Linked DNA regions of Homo sapiens: region 1 is linked to region 2. Evidence: promoter capture Hi-C in 16 types of primary human blood cells and fetal thymus (Javierre and others, 2016). All regions are on one chromosome and are shown on one strand. Each heading gives the region's core, a stretch centred on a gene start or on the middle of the fragment in contact. The rest is flanking DNA. Distances are from core to core; before and after follow the strand shown. Region 1 overlaps BRD9 (bromodomain containing 9). Region 2 holds the start of CEP72 (centrosomal protein 72).

The links. The method cuts DNA at HindIII sites, captures the fragments that hold promoters and counts their contacts. A CHiCAGO score of 5 or more calls a contact.
Region 1: a fragment that was not itself captured here is called in contact with the fragment with the promoter of CEP72 in region 2 in 1 of 17 cell types (endothelial precursors); the score reaches 5.4 in endothelial precursors.

What each region holds. Positions count from the first base shown.
Region 1 is chr5:869,815-876,440 of GRCh38, forward strand. BRD9 (bromodomain containing 9) reads right to left here. Exons shown (of 16, transcript NM_023924.5): 12 at 6,287-6,398; 13 at 1,712-1,750; 14 at 659-761. Among named protein-coding and RNA genes, the nearest start is that of BRD9, 20 kb to the right of the region's middle. The HindIII fragment of the contact is 1,164 bases long and covers 2,448-3,611 here.
Region 2 is chr5:608,198-614,086 of GRCh38, forward strand. CEP72 (centrosomal protein 72) reads left to right here and starts at 4,143. Exons shown (of 12, transcript NM_018140.4): 1 at 4,143-4,246. The coding sequence starts at 4,165. It overlaps CEP72-DT (CEP72 divergent transcript), which reads right to left and starts at 4,013. Exons shown (of 3, transcript NR_103444.1): 1 at 3,955-4,013; 2 at 3,250-3,556. RefSeq lists enhancers at 3,066-3,996, 3,997-4,926. The HindIII fragment of the contact is 7,839 bases long and covers 1-4,836 here.

The sequences.
Region 1 (6,626 bases), core at 1,780-4,279, 260 kb after region 2:
GTTACAACTGACATGTACTGACTGATGTCCTCTGTCTCCCTAAAACATATCAAAACAAGCTGCAGACCAGTCCTCCTCGGCAAATGTTCTTGGGACCTCCTGGGACTGTGTCACAGCCACGGTCTTCGTATTTCACTCAGAAGAAACCTCTCTAAATACCCTGCAGAGTTTGACTCTTCTGTCCACACACTAGGCTGACATTTACCCATTTATTCTGCGGGGTGTCACCCAGGGTACGGATGGGCCCCAGGTGGGAGCGATGCAGAGGGGACCCGTGGGAAGGGGCTGCCTTCTTCCCAGAGCCTCCAGGCGTCCAGCAATGAGGCTCCCTAGGGAACCCCACCTTTTGGGATTTCATGGAGGCGGTAGGCAACACTGATGAAATCCACAGCCACTGGGGATCGGCCAGACCCCATCCTGAGGTTACCCAGGGGCTGCAACCACTTCTCATTAGCTTAAAAAAGACACAACACTCAGGAGATTCCAAGGATTTTAGGAGCTATGGTCCAAAAACCTGGGACAAAGACCAAATACCGTAACAAAAGATTTTCCTGGCATCCCTGTCTAGTCAGGAAGGGAGAGGAGGTGGAGGCCGTGTGTTTTCTTCCTCTATCACACCTTCACCAGGTGCTGTGGGAAAGTGCCTGTTACAACTCACCCAGAGAGCTGAGCATGGAGATATCCACAGAAACGTCGGGATAGGACTTCATCGACATGAACTCCAGAACAGAGCTGCTGCTGTCTCCTAGGGTGTCCCCAACCTGTGGAGACAGACACACATCAAGAGCAATTCAAACATCAAACGAAAAACGAAATGTTACTTCACACTCGCTATTGAAATCACTCTAATTATTTGCTAAACGTGAACCCACCCCTCAGTAAGTGACAAGACCAAGCCCTGTTCACTGAGGCTGCTGTTCAAGGGACTGTCAGGTTGGAGCTCATGAATGGATATGCAAATCCATGTCAAAGAAAAACCTACTGAGACCAACAACGCAAACTAACAATCCTTTGTTAACTTTTTGGGGCTAAAGAAATTGGGGAGGGACATTATGCAACAGGAAGACACACAGAATTTTAGGGTCCAGGACTATTTCTCAGGCACTTCACAGAGCACACAACGTTCCCTTTCCTTTCCCAGCAAGGCGTGTCCTCAGGGCTAGACTACAGCCACCCTAACACATACTCTCTCATCAGCTCCCTGCAGCTCGGCCTCTGCCCTCAAACAGATGTTAAGGGGTCTCTCCAGGTTCCCAGGGACCCTGGACCAAAGCCCAAGCCCATGCCTGCTGACTGTCAGAGACACACACCTGCCAATCGGCAGGTGCAGCAGTCTGGGCTCACAGCACTGCCCTGCCAGCACTGGCCCCAGAGCCCACTGTGCTTGGGACAACACCTGCTACTCACCAAGCAGGTCCTGAGAAGGCCCATCCTGCCCAACCCTTGCAAGGGTGTCCCACAAGGACAGCACCCAGCGGGGCCAACTGCTCTGAAACTACCCATTTCTGGATTTGGAAGAATGTACTGCGGCTTCACACCACTCACCTCAAGTCATGAAAAGAGGAGGAGAAACACTATTGATCTTACTGATCAGAAACGGACTCCATTTCTAAACGCCGTCATACACACAGACCTCCCCACCTCAAAGGCTGGATACAACTTTCCCTGTGAGAATAATATTTGGCTTGCCCTTCCATGTTCAAAAACTTACCTTGGCTTCATCTGGAGGCTTCATGGGAACATTTCTTCTCTGAAAAGTAAATGAGGACAGAAACTAGTTTTTCCAGAGTGATTTCATAGAAACGGACAATTCGCTGACATTACACACACGTAAAAATGGCTTGTGCGCTTCTGCGAATTCTGCTCCCCAGTCACACCATCTTAATGGATTAAGGCTGGGGGTCCTCCAAACCTTCTTCATCACCAGTCACTGACCCAACCACGCCCAGCCCCCTCCTCAGCGCCAGGATTGTGTGCCGGGGACAGCGCTCCACAGGGCGAGATGGAGCGGACAGAGAGAGGACGCCGATGCTGTTTCGGCAGCCTTGGGTGGCTTAAAACAAAAGAAAAAAGATGTGCCTAGATCCTATGGGAAGCTTAGGATAAGAAGGGTCTCGTGGGTTCCACCTGGAATATGACCAGTTGCCTGAGACCAGCTCGAGTCCTGCAGGGGCAGGTGTGTGCAGGAGCAAAGGAGGCAGACACCTCCTGGCAGTGCCTGTGGCAGGTGGGCCTGCCGTGGGCGCAGGAGCGAAGGAGGCAGACACCTCCTGGCGGTGCCTGCAGCAGGTGGGCCGGGCCGTGCATTGTCTCCTTCCACAACTGTCGGCCTCCGTGGCACACCCGTCCTGTGCTCCGGTGGAGCGATGCTGTAGTATATGCACTCTATCATGTGTGATCTTTGTTCGAAATAATGTTTCTCAGATTCAATGACATCGATTTTCACAAGCTTTTAATTAGAAAATGAATACTGCTGTTTTGTTCGCATCTGTTTCCCCAAAAGCCTTCAGTCACTTTAGTCCTGAGCATCATTTACTGCGGGGGTGCACTCGGGGTCACTCAACTCCATATCCAAGTTCACTTTCCCGAAAGGAATCTAACTGGAACCCAGAGAGGAAACCACAGAGCCTTCCCATTTCCGGGCTGTGAGGGGGTCACTTTCCCTACCCCACAGCAATGCCTGATTCTAACGCTGTGTTGGGGGGGCCAGCTTCCTGCCTGGAAGGAGCCTGCAGGCCACGACACGGGAGGGTGACCAGAGCTCAGAGTCAGAACCACGAGCTGGTGGGGCAGGCTCTGCAGAGGGGGCTGCTCCTCAGAGCTGCAGAAATCTGCTTGGGGACTCCCGCCTGGCTGCAACCCTCTCTTCAGGGGCCTGCGAGCCCTCCAAGCATGGAAATCAAGGAAAATCTTGAGTTCCTTCAAGGGAAATTCCAGTTACTTAGATAACTCTGAGAAGTAAATCAGCGACTTGATAAGCAAGAAGGTAACAGTATCCTAAAACAACAGTCAAGGAAGGTGGAGACAGATGTTTGTTCCCTGTAGAAAGTAAAGACAACCTCCCAGCACTGTTCCCTGTAGAAAGAAAAGACAACATCCTACCACTCTGGGAGGCTGAGATGGATGCATCATTTGAGGTCAGGAGTTAAAGACCAGCCTGGCCAACATGGCGAAACTCCGCCTCTACTAAAAATACAAAAATTAGCCAGGTGTGGTGGCGCATGCCTGTAATCCCAGCTACTCGGGAGGCTGAGGCAGGAGAATCGCTAGAATCAGGGAGGCAGAGGTTGCAGTGAGCCACAATCACGCCACTGCACTCCAGCCTGGGTGACAGAGTGAGACTCTATGTCTCAAAAAGAAAAAAAAAGAAAGAAAGTAAAGATAACATCTTAATGTATATCCCTGAGTTGTCTTTCAGAAACCTGGACCCTCCACCTAGGACCTCCCCAACAAACTAATCTACTGGCATGAAGGGCTCAGATAAGGAGAAACTGAAGACTGAGCTCTGACCCCGTTCTTTGTTCTGAATTTCTTCCTGACGGGCCTGGAGGAAGCCACACCCACAAGCCTAAGCTAACATTCTTTTCTCTTCACCCCAAATTTTTAAACAAAGCTTCTCCTCCTTAACCAGCTGCAAATCAGAAAACCTTTGAATCCACCTATAACCTATAAGGCCCTGCTTGCAGATACCGCCCTTCTAGGCCAAGCCGACATGTAACCTCTGTGTCCTTATGCACGACTCTGCCTTTCAGTTCTGCTTTCCTGAGATCTACCCCCGCTTTACAAGCCTTGCCTGTAGCCAGTGGGGGAGGCCAGGATTTATACATGAGCCTCCTGGCCCACCTTGCTTGGCGCCCTGCAAATACACACGTCCTTTCTATGACAAAACCTCGGCATGGGTGTCTGGGTTTACTGCACCAGGCATGTGGACCCCAGTTCATCTGTAACAAGCACAGATGAAACCGTCAGGTCAAGGGACTGACCCCTCCTTGGGAGCCATGAGCCAAACGTTCTCAGAGCCTGGGAAGGACAGAGACTCATCCGAACTCCACCCACAGCAGAGACCACGCTGAAAAGACAGGGCTCCCCGAAGGGCCACTCCTTAGCATTAAGGCTACACGAACCCTAGAATAAGGCTGCCCTGGACCCACCCCAGACAAGCCTGGTAGGATCCGGCCATTATCCACAAGTAACAACTGCCAAAATGATCATCAGTATTCTCTGAAAGAGAGAAAGAACCCAGATCAGCCTTGCCCAGCAGACATAACGCGAGCACACGCCTCGTTCTAAATGTTTTTTTATCTTTTTTTTGAGACAGGGTCTTGCTCTATTGCCTAGAGTGCGGTGGTGCAATCGCACTGCAGCCTCGACCTCCCGGCCTCAAGTGATCCTCCCACCTTAGCCTCCTGTGGAGCTGATGACAGGTGCATGCCACCATACCCAGCTCTTAAAATTCTAGCTGCCACATTAAAATTACTCTTAACATTCAATTAACTAATGCATTTTACTTAGACAAATTTATTGAAGATGTTTTTATTCCAACATGTGGGCCATAAGAAATCGTTACTCATATTTTTACGTTTTTTGCATTAGTTTTTTAAGATCTAGTTTGTAGCTCACACATCACATCTAAATTCAGACTGGCCACATTCAAATTTCCCAGCGGCCATGTGGCCAGTGCTTTTTTATCAGACAGCGAGGGTCAGGACTGTCCACCAGGCACGTGCACAATGGCCCACAGCTCCAAGTGCAGCAAAGTGTCAAACAGAAACAGAACCGGAAACGGCAGAGGCGACAGACTCAGTGACTGAGGACTTCAAAAGCAGCAGCAATAAATACGAACGTGGCTCAAGGATGTAAGGAAAAACATACACACAACATGAGAGAAGATACACAAAAGCAGCAAATGGAGCCCAAGTGATGAGCAGCGCGGGACGACATCATCAGTGAAAACTGATCTGGGATAACAGGTTCAGGTGTGGCCAGAGAACAGGTGAGTGAACTTAGCCAACAGCATCAGAAACTAATCTGCAGCAGCCTGGTGCGGCAGCACAGTGTCGGTGCCATGTGAGATAACACGAGCTGTCCTCAGAGTGCCACAGTCCAGCAGGAGGAGGAAGAGGCAGTGGTGGAAAATGACATTTGAGTAATGGCTAAAAATCTTCCAAATATGATGAAAACTACAGACAGATCCAAGAAACAACAAATGCTAAGTAGAACACAAAGAAAAGCCCACCAAGGCACCTGGAAAATACAATGCTGAAAATCACTGATAAAGAAAGATAAAAGTTCAAAAGCTCCTAGAGCACCGGCCAGATCCCGTCCTGCCGAGGGCCCGGGAGTGAGCAGCCGAGGCTCTGTGAGCCACACGCTGCCCGAAGCATCTTCTTCTTCCTTTTCTTTTCTGTAAACACCCTTTTAAAGATGTAAAAGACATTCCTGGCTTGTGGTCTGTACAAAAGCAGACTTCAGGTCAGATCTGGCCGAAAAGACACGTCACATGTGGGAAACAAAGATGACAATGACTTCAGACGCTTTTTTTTTTTTTTTGGAGATGGGGTCTGGCTCTGTGGCCCAAGCTGGAGTGCAGTGGCATGATCTCGGCTCACTGCAAGCTCTGCCTCCCGGGTTCATGCCATTCTCCTGCCTCAGCCTCCCGAGTAGCTGGGACTACAAGCACCTGCCACCACGCCCAGCTAATTTTTTCTATTTTTTAGTAGAGACGGGGTTTCACCGTGTTAGCCAGGATGGTCTCGACCTCCTGACCTTGGATCTGCCCGCCTCGGCCTCCCAAAGTGCTGGGATTACAAGTGTGAGCCACCATGCTTGGCCCAGATGCTTTTTTATAGCAACAATGCAAGTCAAACCTATTTTACAGTAGATGGGAAAAAAGGTCATCTAAAATTCCATACACAGGGAAAATGAATTTCAAAAATGAAGATGAAATAAAGACTTTCAGAGAAGCCAATGCTGAGAGATCACTGTCAGTAAATCTGAACTACAGGAAATATTTTTTTAAACTCTTCAGGATGAAGGAAAGTGACAGAGATGAAAGATGAAGATGGAAATAGAGAGTTACGAGTGCGCTGGGAGTGGTGAGCACACAGTCACGGTCTCCGGGGGACACCTGCCCGTGCAGAGAAGCACGCAGATCCTGACGAGGAGCCGGCAGCAGAGTCCCTGCGACAGCTCCTCGTCCCCGAAAGCCTGGTCAGGCTGCAGGCTCTTCCCGCCAGCAGCACCCCAAGGGCACCTGCCCCCCAACCCCGGTGCGAGTGCAGCCCACCTGCTTCAGCTGGAAGAGCGTCCTAGAGTGGTCTCCGCCTGTGATCTGGTCCAGGAGGTCGTCCACCACTTTCTTGCTGTAGCTCCCAGCATCCTTCACAAACTCCTGCAGGCTAGAGGGGCCGCGGGAGAAGGTACGCTGAAAGGAGCCCTTGTCGCCTGGCCCTCGCGGCAGCCCTGATCACAGAAGCCTGCCGTGCCAGCGCAGCTCCTCGGTCCCCGTGACCCTCCCAGAGCGGGTATTTTGTGGGGAGTGGCTGATAGTTTTCATTAGATTTTCAAAGTGGTCCATGACCCAAAAAGGTTAAAAAGATCTCAGTGGGGAGAGGGAGAAAAGCATG
Region 2 (5,889 bases), core at 2,893-5,392:
GGAGCTGGGTTTGGGAGCAGCTGCTCTGCGTAGCCCTGGCTTGGATGCTGCGAGCCAGGTGGGCCTGGGGTGAGCGCTCGTCCCTGGGGTGGGTGGAGGCCCCCATTTCCCTCTCAAGTCCCCTCACTGTACATCACAGCCTCCTCCCACCCCCGCTCTGTTTAGAGAAAGCCCAGAGGCCCCTCAGGCTGAACCTCCAGCCCTCTTCTCTGACCATGTGGGTCTCCCTGTTTCCTTCCGCTGGCCTGGTCTCTGTAGGGCTCACTGAGCCTGCAGTCTGGGACCCACAGGCTTGAGGATTGAGGCTCGGGGCCTGGGAGCCTCCCTGGGATGTTCTAGAAAGCTATGGATGGGGCACCTGTCAGGGAGACAGCACACGGAGAGCCTCTCCCACCTGGGTCCTACCATAGCGGCCTGGGCCTGTGGGCTTAAAGAGCCGCTCCGGAATTTAACTGGGCCTGAGGGCTGGTGCCCTGTGAGGAACCCGGGATAGAACCTGGGGACAGAGGCCTCCATTAGTCCTTGGGAGCGGCAGGTAGCCCATGGGGTCACTGTGATCCCGGCACATTGTGGGAGCGTGCGCTGGGATGGGGAGGGGTCACTGTGAGCACGGTGCGTCGTGGGAGCGTGCGCTGGGATGGGGAGGGGTCATCGTGATGATGGCACAGCACACTCTCCTGTGGTCTAGGTTTAGGGATGCCAGTGAGACCCGCTGAAGCGTTGGGGCCCTACCCGAGGTGAGGCGTGCCCAGGTCTGGGGACTCCTGTCTTGGGGCCCCTCCCAGGAGAACCACCCCCCTCCTCTGGCAGGAAGCCCCCAAAGCTGTGGAGGAGCCCTGGGCCCACAGACAGCATCCCTGCTGCTGGGGACCCCAGGCCTGTGCGGGTGCCGCTGCCATGGGGCTGATGGGGCCCAGCCCAGCAGCCCCTGCCTTTGCTTTCCCGGCTTCTCTGCGGCTCTGTGCTTTTGCTGCCCCATTCCAGGCCGGAAGGCTCCCGCGCCTCCATGGATCTTCATGATTTGGCCAACCAGAGTGAGCACCGTGAGGAAGTGGAGACAGACACAACTTTCAGCAGCAGAAGACAGGATAATAAAGTTGGGTTTGGTTTATGATCTAACGTGACCATTAAAAGTGTTTAATAAACAACGTTAAAGACTACTTAGTGGCAGATGCATCCGGCAATGCTTAGCATAGCCTCATGACTGTCAATACGCACAGGCTTGAAAAACACCTGCAGGATACATGTGGGCATGTTAGTGTGGGTTATCTCAGCAGGGCGGCATATCGAATCTCGGTGCCCTTCTGTAGTGTCTATATTTTCTACAGTGAAGCTGGGATACTTTGGTGAGCAGAGGCATTGTTTTCAAAGTTCCCATTGGTACTTCCATCACATCCCCGTGTGGTTCTGTCCTGGACCGGCTGCCCACTGAGGTCCCACTCGCCCCTACCCTGCCCTGTCTGGCCAGCTGGGTACCTGCCCAGGAGGAAGAGGCTCAGTGTTTGGGGCCTGTGTTATGCCCTGAAAAGCCACTGCTGTTGGGTGAGGGCCCATGAGGCCTTCAGTTTGCCATCGTCATGTGCTTCTGAAGAGCCAGGATGCTGTCCACTGTTTGTCTCCTGGCGGGACAGAATTCCACTCAGTGCATATCAGGGGCAGTGATGGGGCTGGGGGTGTGAGGGCTCAGCTGTGCCCTGAACTCCTTCACAGTCTTGCAGGAGGGGTCATGGAGCCATATCTGGGTTTGCAATTTTTGGAAAGTTACGTGACGATCTGCACTCAGGAATGCTGAGTGTTCGGCAGGCCCCATGAACAGTGATCAAATGTGACGCTGTGTGTCCCACAGCCTAAGGGCTGTGGCAGAGACCAGGAGGGCCATCAGCTCCCACAGCTTTCGAGTCCACCTCAGGGCTCCTCCTTGCTGACCTCCCTGGGTTGTCAGTGGAGACAGCCACCCTCCCACAGAGCACCTGCCTGAAATGGGCCAGGCCGCCCCTGTGCCCTGGCTCTTGCTGCACATGCTGAGGTCAGCACGGAGGCGCCCTCGGGCACCAGCATGCCCTCGGGTTTGCAGCTTGTCAAATATCCCATGAAGGCAACCTGACCAAATGTGCTCTAACACCACTGGACCAATGGAACGTCTTGGGCTGAACAGATGCAGCCTTGCATCCACCGCCTGCCACCACCCTCTGTGTACACCCCCTGCACACACCTCTGCACACACCCCCCCTGCACACTGTTGCACATACCCCCTGCACACAGCCTGTGTACACTCCCTGCACAGATCCCCTGCACACAACTCCCTCACACATCCTCTGCACAAACCCTGTGTATACCCCCTGCACACACCTCTACACATACCTTCACACACCATGTATACCTCCTGCACACACCTCTGCACACACCTCCTGCACACACCTTGTGTACACTCCCTGCACACTGTTGCACACACCCCCTGCACATAGCCTCTGCACACAGCCTGTGTACACTCCCTGCACAGATCCCCTGCACACACCTCCCACACACATCCTCTGCACAAACCCTGTGTATACCTCCTGCACACACATCTACACACACCTCCTGCACACACCTTGTGTACACCCCCTGCACACTGTTGCACACACCTCCTGCACACACCTCCTGCACACACTGTTGCACACACCCCCACACATAGCCCCTACACACACCTCTGCACATACTGTTGCACACACCCCCACACATAGCTCCTGCACACACCTCCTGCACACACCTCCTGCACACACTGTTGCACACACCCCCACACATAGACCCTGCACACACCTCCTGCACACACTGTTGCACACACCCCTTGCACATACACCCTGTATATACCCCCTGCATACTCCTTATGTACAGCACTGCACATACTCCCTGCAGAGACCCTGTGTGCATCCTCTGCACACACCCCTTCTGTATACTGTCTGCACACACCCCCTACATGTACACCCTCTGCACACTCCTCCTGCATACACCCCATGTACACCTTCTGCACACACTCCCTGAACACATTCTGAGTACACCTCCTGCACACCCCGTGTACAACCTCTGCACACACCCCCTACACACTCCCCTACACACTCCCCTACACCATCCACACACACTCCCTGCACACAGCCCCTGCACACATTCCCCATGTACACCCTCTGTCTGTGTATACCCTCGTCTACTACCACCATACGTACCCCCCACCACTACCCTGCCTTGTCTATCACCCCCCAGGCTGTGACATACCAGGGATGTTGCCAACGAGCTGGTCTAATCTGGGGTGAGGGTTTCTGGGTGCCCCTAGACACCAGGAGAAAGGCGGGGAGGGGACACCCCTGGGGGTCTGGATTCACTCCACCAGGCGCTGGGCCACAGTGGTACGGTGACACAGTAGATGTCTTGAGCAGGATTAAAGTCTTCCCAATAAACAGGCTGAACTCTGTCTTCCTTGAAAGCTCTGTAGAAGGACCTCACAAGGATAAACACAGCGAGACCCTCCAGGGCGCGGTCAGCCACGAGCCACAGTGCTGGGCCTGTGACATCTCTGGAGGTTCTGGGGTGGAGAAGGACCGGCCGTGGGGAGTGACTGGCTGGGGAGAAGCTCAGCTCCCGCCCACCTCTGGGAGGCCCGGGGCTGGACGGGAGGTGCAGCAGACAAGGCTCCGGGCGGGTGCTGGGGTGTCTGGAGGGGTCCCCGCGGGGGGGTCGGGTTGGGTGGGGAGTCTAGGTGAGTCGGGGGTCCCCGGGGGCGCTGGGTTCAGGGTGGGAGCGGAGTGTGGATGGGGCAGGGTCCCCATGCCCACCACCAGCCGCGATTCCACCGCGCCTACTCGGGGTTTCCCCGGGAGGACACCGCGTGTGTCAAGGGCCGGGGCCTAGAAGGCGGCCGCGCCCAGGGAAGCCTTGACAGGGAGCTATCTGGGGCGGGGGCTGGGGTCGCGTGGCCAGTACCTGGGAGAACCGCCATTCAGGAGAACCCCCCGCCAGGCTCTTGGTTCCGCCCACGCAGTCCCGCCCCCTCCCCCAGCCACGCCCCTCGCCCCGCCGCGCAGGCCCCGCCCCGTCCCGCCAGGCTCTCGGTTCTGCCGACGCAGGTCCCGCCCCTCTCGTAGCCTCGCCCCGCCCGCCGCGCAGGCGCCGTCCGAGGGCTCCGTTTGAAACATGGCGCGGGCTGGCCCTCGGCTGGTGCTGAGCGAGGAGGCGGTTCGGGCGAAGAGCGGCTTAGGGCCTCACCGCGACCTGGGTGCGCCGGAGGGCGGGCGGGGGTGCAAGCGTGAGGTGGCGGGGGGGTGGGTGCCGAGCTTCCCGGGGCGGCGGCGGACCGTGGGCAGGCGGGACCCGTCTACGCAGGCGCCGCGGGCGTCCGGAACGGTCGCGGGCGAGCGGGGCGCGCGTGTCCAGGTGAGCGACCCACCCCCCGTGCCCAGGTGCGGCCCCTGCCCGCGTTCGGGTCCCGGCGTCCCGGCCCCTGCCTGTCTATCGGGTCACTGGTTCCGTGACTGGGGGTTACATCCGCTGAGAAGAGGGAGCCGGCCTTGCTGTCCAGGAGCGCAGCCCGCCCTCCCGCTGGGGATCACCTCCCTGGTTCTCCTGGGCCCACTCTGTGGTGATTGTTGCGCTCGGCCTTCTTGAGGATGTTGGTGGCCGGTTTCCTTCTTTTTGGCTTATTTTTGTCTGGTTTTGGCGTCAAGGTGAAGCCGAGCTCATAAACTGCTGAGAAGTGTTGCCTTCTCTTATATTTAGAAGAGGTTCTGTAGAGTGTGTGCTCATTGTTTGAATGTTTCCTGGAATTTTCCAGTGAAACCATATGGACATGTCAATTTCTGTTTTTGAAGCTTTTAAATGACAAATTCTGTATCTCTGGTTGTTAGAGAACCGTTCATATTAGTTCACCGCGAGTCTTGGCTGTGTGGGGTTTTGTGGCATTGGCTTATTTGAGCTAACTTGTGGAGTGTGTGTGTTGAGTTGTTTCTGGTGTTCTGTTGTTAGCCTGTTAATGTCTGTGTGTGGTCTGCAGGTGTTACTGGACCAACAGGTTCAGTCAGGTGCTGTGGGGGCCACAGGCCAATACACTGAGACAGTGGGGTTTGCAGCAGAGAAAGAGTTTAAGGCTGGCAGGGGCCCAGCAGGGAGGTGGAAGGAGGCCTCAATCCATCTCCCCAAGGAGATCTGAGCGGTTTTTTTTTTTTAGACGGAGTCTCACTCTGTCGTCCAGGTTGGAGTGCAGTGGCACAATCTCAGCTCACTGCAACCTCCACCTCCCAGGTTCAAGTGATTCACTCAGCCTCCTGAGTAGCTGGGATTACAAGCACGCGCCACCATGCCCGGCTAATTTTTTATATTTTTAGTAGAGACGGGGTTTCACCATGTTGGCCAGGCTGGTCTTGAACTCCTGATCTCAGGTGATCCACCTGCCTTGGCCTCCCAAAGTGCTGGGATTACAGGCATGAGCCACCTACACCCAGCCTGAGCTGGGGGTTTTAGAGGAACAGGACTGTGAGGAGCTGGAAGATTGGTGTTGTCAGTTGGTGGAGGTAAGGGCCATGGAATTATCAGGGTGTGGAAACTGCATTCTTTGGTGAATCCGCTTGCGGGGCCCTTTAGACCAGCTGGCATCAGTCCCCAGGTCCTGAAAGAATATCTCAAATGGAAAACTTAACGGTTTATAATGTCCAGGTTATTATCTGTAGAGTGGTTAAGGGGAACTGTAACCTCGTGACAAAATCCAAGTGATCCTGAGGCAGTAGGCACCACAGGGCTCTGAGGAAGCAGGTGAGAGGGCAGCTGACCTCGGGACATGCCGAGTCCTCCCTTCTTCCCTGATTAGTGCTACAAGGTTTACAGGGATATCCCTTTTCTGTTCCTGATGTTGATAATCTGTGTATT